2 separate regions of the Homo sapiens genome follow, and region 1 is linked to region 2. The links are contacts of gene promoters, found by promoter capture Hi-C in human tissues and cell types (Jung and others, 2019). All regions are on one chromosome and are shown on one strand. The core of a region is centred on a gene start or on the middle of the fragment in contact, and the rest is flanking DNA. Distances in the headings are between cores, read along the strand shown.

Region 1 (6,492 bases), core at 1,410-3,909, 150 kb after region 2:
AGACAGAATCGTGCTGCTGGACACGGAGACATCGCAGAGGATATGCTATTGGGTAATGGCCCTTATTCAGACCTGGAACATCAAATGGAACTAAACGCGCCTGGGCCACAATTCCTGAAGAGGGAGTCCCAGTACAATCCTTTTTACCTTTCATGGAAGGGTCACAGGAGCCCTCTGCACAATTTCTTGCAAGATTACGAGAGGCAGTGAAGTGTCAGATTCCTCATGCCACTGCCGCAGAGGCGCTAACCTTAACTTTAGCTTCTGAGAATGCAGACGCAGATTGTAAACGTGCACTGGCACCCGTGAGGTGTACTAAAAACTTGGGAAATTTTCTCAGAGCTTGTCAGGATGTAGGAATTGAGCTTCATCGCTCTGCAATGTTAGCGGAAGCAATGGCTGATTTAGTAGTTGACAAATCTAAAAGGAGCCAAGGATTAAGCCCTCAAGTGGGAAAATGTTATAATTGTGGAAAAACTGGACATTTTGAAAAAGAATGCCGCCAGATCTCAGGACAGAGAGGACCTTATAATGCAGTACCCCCCCCCTCAGTGGAAAAAACGCCAGGACTTTTATTTACTTTTATTTACCCAATAAAATGTGAAGGGCTTTAAAGCTCAGGGCCCTTGTTCAGTAGAAGCAAGAAGCCCCCGACCCCTTTTTCCAAATATACTTTTTTGTCTTTATCTTTATTCCTGCATTTATCATCCTCTGTTCACTACAACAGGGATCAAGGTCAGTGACAGTTGCCGACAACCTTTGGCATTCCTTGGCTTGCAGACCCTTTGCTCGACTCTCTGCCTCTTTTGTCACGTGGCTTTCTTCCCTCTTGCCGTTTTACATAATCTTCTCTCTGTACCTTTCTCCTCCTCATATAAGGACATAGTGATACTGGATTAGGGACCACTCTCATGACCTCACCATAATGTAGTTACATCAGCAAAGACCCTATTTCTCGGCTGGGCACAGTGGCTCACGTCTGTAATCCCAGCACTTTGGGAGGCCGAGGCAGGTGGATCACCTAAGGTCAGGAGTTCGAGACCAGCCTGACCAACATGGAGAAACCTTGTCTCTACTAAAAATACAAAATTAGCCGGGCGTGGTGACACACACCTGTAATCCCAGCTACTCAAGAGGCTGAGGCAGCAGAATCACTTGAACCCGGGAGGCAGAGGTTGCAACGAGCCGAGGTCTTACCACTGCACTCCAGCCTGGGCAACAGAGTGAAACTCCATCTCAAAAAAAAAAAAAAAAAAAAGACCGTGTTTCCCAATTTTAAAAGTCACATTCACAGATACCAGAGGTTAGGCATTCAGCATGTCTTTTTGGGAGCTATAAATCAACCCACTAAACCACGGACATCTTTATTTGTTCTTCATTTTACCTAAAATGTTTCTCATATTTTAGTGTTATGTAAGATATTTCTGTAGGATCCCAGAAATTACCACTTCTCAAATTAAGAAAGCTTTATTCTGTTCTCTCTTTATTAAGCATTTAGTTTTTGTGCCTGTCTTCATTTTTAAATGAATAATGGGTATTGAATAGATATATCTCATAAATGTAATGTAGAGAGGACAAAAACAAGTTACGGAAGGATATAGACCATGTGGTAACACTCCTGTAAAGTTTTCAGATGTGCAAAACAAACCAGCATAGGTCAGGCATGGCAGCTCATGCCTGTAATCCCAACACTTTGGGAGGCTGAGGTGGGTGGATCACCTGAGGTCAGGAGTTCAAGATCAGCCTGACCAATATGGTGAAACCCCGTCTCTACTAAAAATACAAAAATTAGCCAGGTGTGGGGGAGTGTGCCTGTGGTCCCAGCTATTCAGGAGGCTGAGACAGAAGAATTGCTTGAACCTGGGAGGCAGACGTTGCAATGAGCCGAGATCGTACCACTGCACTCCAGCCTGGGTAACAGAGTGAGACTTCTTCTCAAAAAAAAAAAAATCCAAAATATTGTCCTTGGGTACATGCATAATTATTTTAAATAGGATAAACACCAAGTTTGGGAGGGCAGTTACCTTGGGGAGGGGAATAGGAGCAGGGTGGGGTACAAGGGACCTCCACTCTATTTGTTATGATTTGTTACGTAATGATGCTTTACTTTTAAGGTGATCTGAAATACATGAAGATGTCAAAACTTGAAAAAGCCGAGTGAAAGGCATAGCGTTTATATTTGTTTCTACAAACCTCTTTGCATGCTTCGTAATAAAAAAGCAAAGCCAAAATTCAGAGCGACAACCAATGTGCCACATGCCCTTTGCAGTGGGCTGGCTTCCCTGGTTACAGCAACCCTCTCATCTCTGCAGAGAATGGAAACCAGAGTGGTCATGGCCTTGGAGCTGAATCTTGTGACTTTCACCTTCTTCCCACATTTGTCCAAACCTCTTGTCCCTGCTCTTCAGGTCCTTGTGTGATGTGACCCAGCTGACACCCTAGCCCCAGATGACTGCCCCTGAATTAGTCTCAGCTTCTCCAACCTGTTCCCTTATCCTCTATTCTTGCATGTGCTGATACCGTATTGAGAACGTTCTTTAATGTTATTTATCTCCTCTGGAATAATTCTGACTCCCTCCTCAAGCATCACCTCCTCCAGGAAGCCCTCTCGGATCCTCCAGGCTCAGCCAGTGTCTCCAGTGGTCCTCACAGTCTCCTGTACTTCCCAAGCTCATCATATTGTCTTCAAATTCCGTGGTTACATGTTCCCCACTCGCCTGAGAAACAGGCCTCCCTTCCTTGTCCTGGGCCAGGGATAGATGTGGAGGTCTGCTGCCTCCTTCTAGGACCTCTCTTCCGCTCTCAGTTACCCCGCAGCGAGGTCTGGGCACAGGACATTGATGGGCAGCCTTCTGGCTTCCTCACTAAGCTGGACAGCTCCGCCCTGGCTCGCCAAGGCAGCTTCAGCCACAGGTGTATCCAGCAGAGCCTCTATCTCCTCCATAAGGTCTGATGAAACACTGCCATCTAAATCCTTTCCCCAGAACACATTCCTATGGTTGCCCTGGACAGAGATTGTGCAATCCTTGCAGTTTTTCTGATTTCCTCCCTTTGAGCACCTGTCCCTAAAAGCCTCAGAATGAAGAGGGCGTGCCCTCCAAAAAGTTCCTGCCCTACGGTTAAGCCTGCTGCTAAGTCAGCTTTCAGCGCTCCGTTTCTGATGATGAAAGCAAGATGAGTCAGATGGTTTGGGAACAAGGGAACTTCTAGAAAGAAGAGTCTAGGAAGCTAAGTTTTGTTAACCCTTCAGCGTCTCCTAAGCACTGCTAACTTTTAATGTTTAACCCTTCCTCCTCCCTCTGTACCATAGACATCCATTCTGATGTGTTTGATACATGCCCTTACATTAGTTTTTTAAGGAAAATATGCTTACATTTGCCTTTCTTATTGCTATAAATTTATGGGGTACAGGTGTAATTTTGTTGCATGCATAGATTTCATAGTAGTGAAGTCATATCCTTAATATTTATACATACTTGGAGTGTGTGTGTATGTGTGTGTGTGTGTGTGTGTGTGTGTGTTATTGAATCAAATCATTTCTGCTTCTCCCAGCTCTAGGCTACTAAGAATCTGGACTGCTGCTGCCTGTACAACTAGTTGATTACGATTTGTTTCATGTGTGTACTCACTACACTTTACTTACTCTTTGCCTGCTCAGGGTCTTGTAGGTTACCCCCAACTCTGCTACTGTAAACAACACTGTGTTGAACATCCTTGTAAATGCCCTTGGAGAAACCTTCTCTAAAAAGTATCTCTTTTTAAAATATCAGAGGGTATATGCCACCTGTATTTCACTACATACTTCCAGACTGTTTTCCAAATTACTGAACTAATTTATACTTCCACCAGCAGTGAGCAACAGTTCCCACTTCCTCACATCTTCACCAACACTTAATACTATGCATCTTTTTAATGGTTGCATTTTAATTGGTATAAGGTTGTACCTCATTATTTTTTCTACAATTAAGTAGACATTAAACTTTCCTGAAATATGTGCTCAATCTTTGGCTTCTTCTATGAATTGCCTTTTCATTCCCCTGGCCCATTTTTCAATTGATTTTTGTGTGTGGGTGTTTCTTTGTTTGTTTTGTTTTGTTTTTTGTTTTGTTTCTTGGGACAGAGTCTTGCTCTGTCACCCAGGCTGGAGTGCAGTGGCACAATCTCAGCTCACTGCAACCAACCTCTGCCTCCCGGTTCAAGCAATTCTCCTGCCTCAGCCTCCAGGGTAGCTGAGATTACAGGCGCCCACCACGCCTGGCTAATTTGTATTTTTAGTAGAGACGAGGTTTCACCATGTTGGCCAGGCTGGTCTCGAACTCCTGACCTCAGGTGATCCACCTGCCTCAGCCTCCCAAAGTGCTGGGATTACACATGTGGGCCACTGCGCCTGGCTGGCCCTTTTATGTTAATTCTTCTGACCTCTGGAAACATTAGCTATCTTTATCCAAATCCTTTTTACAGTATTCTCTAATTGAATTTAAATTTTTTTCTCTGCAGATATGTCCTGTGCATTTTTTTTATTTTTATTTTACAGTCTTCCTCTATTACCCAGCTAGAGTGCAGTGGCACTATCATAGCTCACTACAGCCTGGAGCCTCGAACTCCTGGGCTCAAGTGATCCTCCCACCTCAGTCTTCAGAGTAGCTGGGACTACAGGCGCATGCCACTACATTTGACTAATTTTTGTATTTTTTGTAGAGAGGAGGGCCTCACCATGTTGCCCAGGCTGGTCTTGAACTCTTGGGCCCAAGCGATCTACCCGCCTCAGCCTCCCAAAAGGCCGGGATTACAGGCATGAGCCACCGCACCTGGCCTCTGGTGCATTCTTTATTGATTCTTAGATACACGATAATTTGAGTTGCTATTTTAGAGGCTTTATTTTTCATTAACTTTCTAGTTTGTTGTTTCTATTAATTTTAGTAATGTAATCACTCTGTGCAAATGCTCTTCGTAGTTGCAATCTTTACATTTATTCCTCTATGTAGGTGATAATATTTTTTTTTTTTTGAGGTGGAGTCTCGCTGTGTCCCCGAGGCTGGAGTGCAGTGGCGCGATCTTGGCTCACTGCAAGCTCCGCCTCCCGGGTTCACGCCATTCTCCTGCCTCAGCTTCCCGTGTAGCTGGGACTACAGTCGCCCGCCACCATGCCCGGCTAATATTTTGTATTTTTAGTAGAGACGGGGTTTCACCTTGTTAGCCAGGATGGTCTCGATCTCCTGACCTCGTGATCCGCCCACCTCAGCCTCCCAAAGTGCTGGGATTACAGGCGTCAGCCACCGCGCCCGGCTGGTTATAATATTTTAAAATACCTGGCACATGGCAGGTATTCAATGTTTGTTGAAAGAATGCATGAACATTGAGAGTTTTTGATGAACCTGAGATGGTTCTGGGTAGACATGCGTAACTTCATTGTTTCTCGGTGTTTCTTTGAGAGAAGCCCCGTCACTGTACTCTTTTCAGGGTTGGTAAAAGAAAACTGGGGCTTCTAGGCTGGCCGCCGTGGCTCACACCTGTAATCCCAGCACTTTGGGAGGTCAAGGAAGGCGGATCATCTGAGGTCACGAATTCGAGACCAGCCTGTCCAACACGGTGAAACCCCATCTCTACTAAAAATACAAAAATTAGCCAAGCGTGGTGGCACGCACCTGTAATCCCAGCTACTTGGGAGGCTGAGGCAGGAGAATCGCTTGAACTTGGGAGGCGGAGGTTGCAGTGAGCCGAGATTGCATCACTGCACTCCAGCCTGGACAACAAAGGGAGACTCTGTCTCAAAAGAAAAAAAGAAAAAGAAAGTTGAGGCTTCCTGAAGCTACACACTGCACAGCCCCATCCGCCACCCACCAAGTGGTAGAGTCCTGCAGCTCAGCAGACCACCTCCTCAACAAAACCTCTGTTTGCTCTCTTCTGGCACAGAGGGAGTGAATCAAGGTCAGGTTCAGACCCAGCCTCTGAGGAGGGACCTGAACTGGCCTGGGGAGCTACGCCTTGGGGGCTTTCTCAGGAGCCAGCAGGGGTTACAATTTGGTCGGGTCCAGTGTGTCCCTCTCAGGCGGAAACCCAGCCCCAGGCCCATAAGAGAGGGGTCCAAGCTCCAAAGAGAAGCCTCCAGCACCAGCCTGGGGATGGAGCTGCAGCGACGAGGACCGGGAAGCTGGAACTACCTCACCCCGAGCCCAGCTCAGCCCAGCCCAGCCCAGAAAGGGCCCAACCCTGTGATTGGTCCAACCCTGTGATTTGTCCTTGGGTCCCTGTTGCCAGGAATCCAGGCCAAGAAAATGAGAAGGAAGGAAGGGAGTGCGTAGGTCCAGTGAGGACGAGGGTGAAATTTATATCTCTGCCCAGGTCTCGGTGCCTGCACCGCCATAGACACCACCAGGTACAGCAACTGGGGCGGGAGCTACGAGGAGGTCCCCGGAGGTATGAGCAAGGAGACTGCCCCATCCCTGCCCCGGTGTCTGGGGTTTGATGGGGGAGGGGAGGGAAGAGCCAAGA
Region 2 (4,556 bases), core at 1,375-3,874:
CTGCTTGGGAGGCTGAGGGAGAAGAATCACTTGAACCCAGGAGGTGGAGGTTGCAGTGAGCCCAAGATCACGCCACTGCACTCCAGCCTGGGCAATAGAGTGAGACTTTGTCTCAAAAAGAAACATTTTACTCTCAGCCATGAGTAAGGAACCGAGAGCAGAGGAGTAGATGGTTTCCTTATTGCCTTCTCCTGGAAGAGTGAAGCGGATCCCACGCGGACCCCTTTGTAATTGGCAGGGGGCTTCCAGTGAAGACACTGAACCCTGAAGCCGTGGTCTGGGGCAGGGTGGTGGGAGAGGTGGGCGGGGGGGGGTGGTCCCGGCTCTGAGGTGTGTGCCCCTCCCCCCTTCCTGTCCCACCCGCTTCTCCACCCCTAGCTTCAAGAGATAGAGGAATTCAAAGAGAGGTTACGGAAGCGGCGGGAGGAGAAGCTCCTTCGCGACGCCCAGCAGAACTCCTGAGGCCTCCAAGTGGGAGTCCTAGCCCCTCCCCTGATGAAATATACATATACTCAGTTCCTTGTTATTCATTTAAGTGTTTTATTCTTTTATCAGTTTTTGGGGGCCGAGTGAGACCCAGGATGCCTCAGGCCCTCAGGGGGCTTGTGTCGGGGGCTGGGGGCTGCTGTTCCGACGGAAGCCGAGAGCGGTCGGGTCCTGAGGGGTGAGCAGGGGTTGGGGACTGAGGGTCCCAGCTCGTTTCTGTGCTCCGTCCTGTGGATGAAGAGGGGTCAGCCAGGGGGAGGGCTCAAGGGCAGTGCCGGCCACAGGTGGCGAACAATGGAGAGAGGGTGCAGGTAGCCACCGTGTCCCACCTCATTGTGAGCACTGGTCTATGTTTACCCTCAATATCTGCCATTTAGGGTGGCATTTGAGTGTGAGGTGGCAGGTCTTGGGGCCCTCGCTGGGATCTTGATCAGAACCCAAGCTTCGTGTATGTGTGAAGTCAACAGATGTGAGTATACAGATGTATATATCCTATGTGTGAGCTTACGTGACTTCCTCCCTGGGATACTTTCCTAGGAAGGGGTCCTATTTTCTCCCTTTGGCCTCCCCAGAACCTTCAGACTTGGGGGCAGGAGCCACAAGTTCCAGCCATGGGTCTTACACTAGCATGGCCCCTGTATAACCTTGGGCCCCTCTAGCCACTGCCTGGGCCTTGGTCCTCCCATCTGAAGTCAGGGCAGCGGATGGACAGAGATGGGGCAGGCCCTGTTCCCTCCTGGCTGGGGTGGAGGGCAGGATCGGAGAGCACTGCCTGGCGGGTTTCTCCTCGACATCGCCAGAACATCACCTACCTTGGACCCCACGGGCTGGAAGCCGGGCAGGCTGCTGACTGTCACACGTTGGTCATCCATGCGGCGGCCCTGGGTACTGGCCAGCATGTCCATGAGGCTGTCCATCTCGGGGGTGGGGTCGCTCTCTGCGTGGACGTTCACAGACTTGGGAGGACACAGCCGGAGTGGGGGCCCCCAACCCTACCCCTTCACCCCCACACAGATGCTTCAGGGTGCACAACCACCTCCCACATCCCGTGCCCCCAGGCCCTCCAGATGACCACTTGCCCTGCACTCCCACCCCGTTCACGCCCCATGGACAGCACCCCCGTGCCCATGCTCACGGCTCTTGGTGGTCTGGCCCGGCCCGGCTTGCAGTGAACAGCGCTGTCCCTCCATCCGGTCGCCCTGCACGTGGCTCAGCAGATTGAAGAAGCCCTCCTGGTCTGGGGAGCCCGCCTGGGGACAGACTCGCTCAGTCTGGTTGGCCCTTCAGCTTGGGGGCCCCTCCCCAAACTTCCTAGCCAGCTTGCTCACACCCTGACCCCGGGGCCTGCCGTCCCCACTTCCTCAGCTCTCACCATGGTCCCCGCCGATCCTCTCTGCAGAGCTGTTCTGAATGAGACATGAGTCTCCTTCCCAATCCCGGCCCCCGCCCCAGGGGCCCTGGCCAGCAGTGCCACTTCACGTGGTACCGCTTCAAGGGACAGGCTCCGATGCGTGTCCCGCCGTCCTAGATTGGGGCCTGATGAGTGTGGCCTGGGAGCTGGGACACGAATCAGGGAAACATGGCCCAGGAGCTACCCCCAGGTCCCAGCATCTCCCATCAATAGGGGTCCACACGGAGAGCCCTGCCCTCTGCCCTGGGGCCTGGCACTCAGACCCCCAAGCCCACCAGCCCCTTTCTACAGCCACAACTGGGTCAGGGGGTCCTAGGAGACTCACTCGTTAATTAGGTGCCCTACAAACTAGTCTTGTCAATCATGGGCTCTGAGACCTTGAGCTGGGGGTGGGGTGGGGGCAGGGCCCTCTCACCTCGGCACAGGGGCCTGAGCCTTCCTCCGTCTTCTCCTCCTGATCCATCATGTCCCTGGACTCCAGTCACTTTTCTGCTGGCCTCTGCCCCGGCCCAGTGCCAGAGAGGGCCTTTTAAACGTCCAGGACGTGGGGGTGTGGATTCCCCCCATCCCCAAATCCCCAGCTCATGCCCCATCTGCTCCCACCCAAGCTTAAGCCCCATAAAGATCATCCAGATAATTGTTTGCCCACAACGATGCTGGATCTGGCATGGTGGGTAGGGGGCAGGGCGACCTGAGCTTGGACCTCGCTGTGCCCAGCAGCAATGACTGGACCCCAGGGACTCTCAGGTGTGATGTCACAAAAGGCCTGAGCAGCATCCCCACAGTTGGAGAAGGGAGGCCAACAGTGTAGGGTGGTAGCTGGCTTAGGGAGGACTTGCAGGTGTCCCCACCCAGCCACCCAGGTTCCCCCACTGGCTCCTGAAAGGGCAGCTGCCACCTGCAGTCGGTACAGAAAAAGGAGGTTGGAGTCAAAGGCCCCTTCCCTCCCTCCCTCTCTGCACCTGCCTCAGACACCACCGGCCACCCTAGCTCCAGCTCTGTCTCCTTGGCAGCAAGTCAAGGGGTCTCCCAGCCACCCTTCCTTCAACTCACTGTCCCTGGAGCCTGGTTGCCTGCCCCAGACCCCAAAACAAGAAAGTCTGGGGTCTCCTGTTCCCACACCACCTAAATGCCAGGTTGAGCTATCTCCTCTCCTCTATCACCCTAGCCCCAGGTGGGAACAGGAGGCGAGACTCCCTGGGGACAGAGGCAGGCGGGGAGAGGACGTCCCTGCCTTTTCCCCCGAGCCACTGTGGCTTTCCCTCAGTGCCCAAGCAGGGGATACCACTGGGAGGTCCCCATCCCCTTCCCTTCCCTCCCCAAGACGCCTTTACGGAAACCAGTGGAAGTTTCATCTCAGAATGAATGGGCTGCACTATCACCACCTCTGCCCGAGCCTCCTCTGTTCCACAAAAGGCCAAGTTCACACTCTCTCCCTCTATGCCAATGAAGTGTCCCCCTCCTCAGTACGTGTATCCCTTTCCTAGGCCTGCCAGAACAAAGTGTCATAGACCAGATGGCTTAAAACACATAAGTTGACTTTTGTTATATATTTTTATATAGAGATGAGGTCTCACTATTTTGCCCAGGCTAGTCTCAAACTCCTGGGTTCATGTGATCCTCCTGCCTGGGCCTCCCAAAGTGCTGGGATTACAGGCATGAGCCACCATGCTGAGCCTTTAAAATTTTTTTTTAACAAATTTATTGAGCCAACGTTCCAGAGGCCACAGCCTGAAATGAAGGTGTTGGCAGAGCTGTGCTCCCTCTGAAAACCAGGTCTCAGGAGCCCTCCTTGCCCCTCCCTGGCTTTTGGCAGTGGCCTGCCGTCCTTGATGTCCTTGGCTTGTCACTGCAGCTCTTCACTCCCTGCCTCCGTGGTCACATGGCATTCTCCCTCTGTGTCCCAGTCTTCATATACCCATTTCCCCACCCCCCCAACCACCTACACAGAACCAGGCAGACATATAACTATCTTACAAGGACACCAGTGATATTGCATTAGGGGCCTACTCTACTCCAGTGTGACCTCATGCTCACTGCTAATATCTATACTAACCCCATTTCAAATAAGATCCTATTGTGGGGTATTGGGGATTAGTACTTCATATCTTTTGGGGGTTAGTGGTGGGGTGGCTGGCCCTAACAGCTCTCTGTCCCCCCAAGGGGTCAGGCTGAGAAGCTGGAGGCGGTCCTGGCTTCCATCCCCCCAGGATCTGGAGGGTTCCCCGCCTTCCCCTGCTCAAAACTCTTGAGAAGACAAAACCCAAACACCTAGGGGTTGTGGAAATGTTCTAAAATGGATTGTGGTAATGGACACACAACTCCAAAAATACTGAAAGCCATTGACTTACGCACCTTAGGTCAGCGAGTTGTATGGTATGTGAATTATATCTCAGTAAAGCTGTTACAAAAGGAGGAAGGGGCAGGGTGCGGTGGCTCATACCTAAAATCCTAACACTTTGGGAGGCCAAGGCAGGAGGATCCCTTGAGCCCAGGAGTTTGATACCAGCCTGGGCAACATAGGGAGATCCTGTCTCTTAACAACAACAACAAAATCAACCGGGCACGGTGGCGTGCACCTGTAGTCCCAGCTACTTGGGTGGCCGAAGTGGAAGAATCCCTTGAGCTCAGGAAGTCGAGGCTGCAGTGAGCTATGATC

Evidence for each region. Contacts are between HindIII fragments. The study calls those that stand out against the background at their distance.
Region 1: a fragment that was not itself captured here is called in contact with the fragment with the promoter of PCP2 in region 2 in 1 of the 25 tissues and cell types used here (lymphoblastoid cells).

Annotation. Positions count from the first base shown.
Region 1 is chr19:7,781,184-7,787,675 of GRCh38, forward strand. It overlaps LOC105372263 (a long non-coding RNA gene), which reads left to right. Exons shown (of 5, transcript XR_001753858.2): 5 at 2,313-4,001. It also overlaps the pseudogene CLEC4GP1. Among named protein-coding and RNA genes, the nearest start is that of CLEC4M, 21 kb to the left of the region's middle. The HindIII fragment of the contact is 6,477 bases long and covers 1-5,898 here.
Region 2 is chr19:7,631,095-7,635,650 of GRCh38, forward strand. It overlaps PCP2 (Purkinje cell protein 2), which reads right to left and starts at 2,625. Exons shown (of 4, transcript NM_174895.3): 1 at 2,313-2,625; 2 at 1,622-1,736; 3 at 1,299-1,423; 4 at 521-714. The coding sequence starts at 2,363. The coding sequence ends at 595. PET100 (PET100 cytochrome c oxidase chaperone) reads left to right here. Exons shown (of 4, transcript NM_001171155.2): 4 at 379-862. The coding sequence ends at 462. It also overlaps a transcript of STXBP2 not described here. The HindIII fragment of the contact is 8,717 bases long and covers 1,717-4,556 here.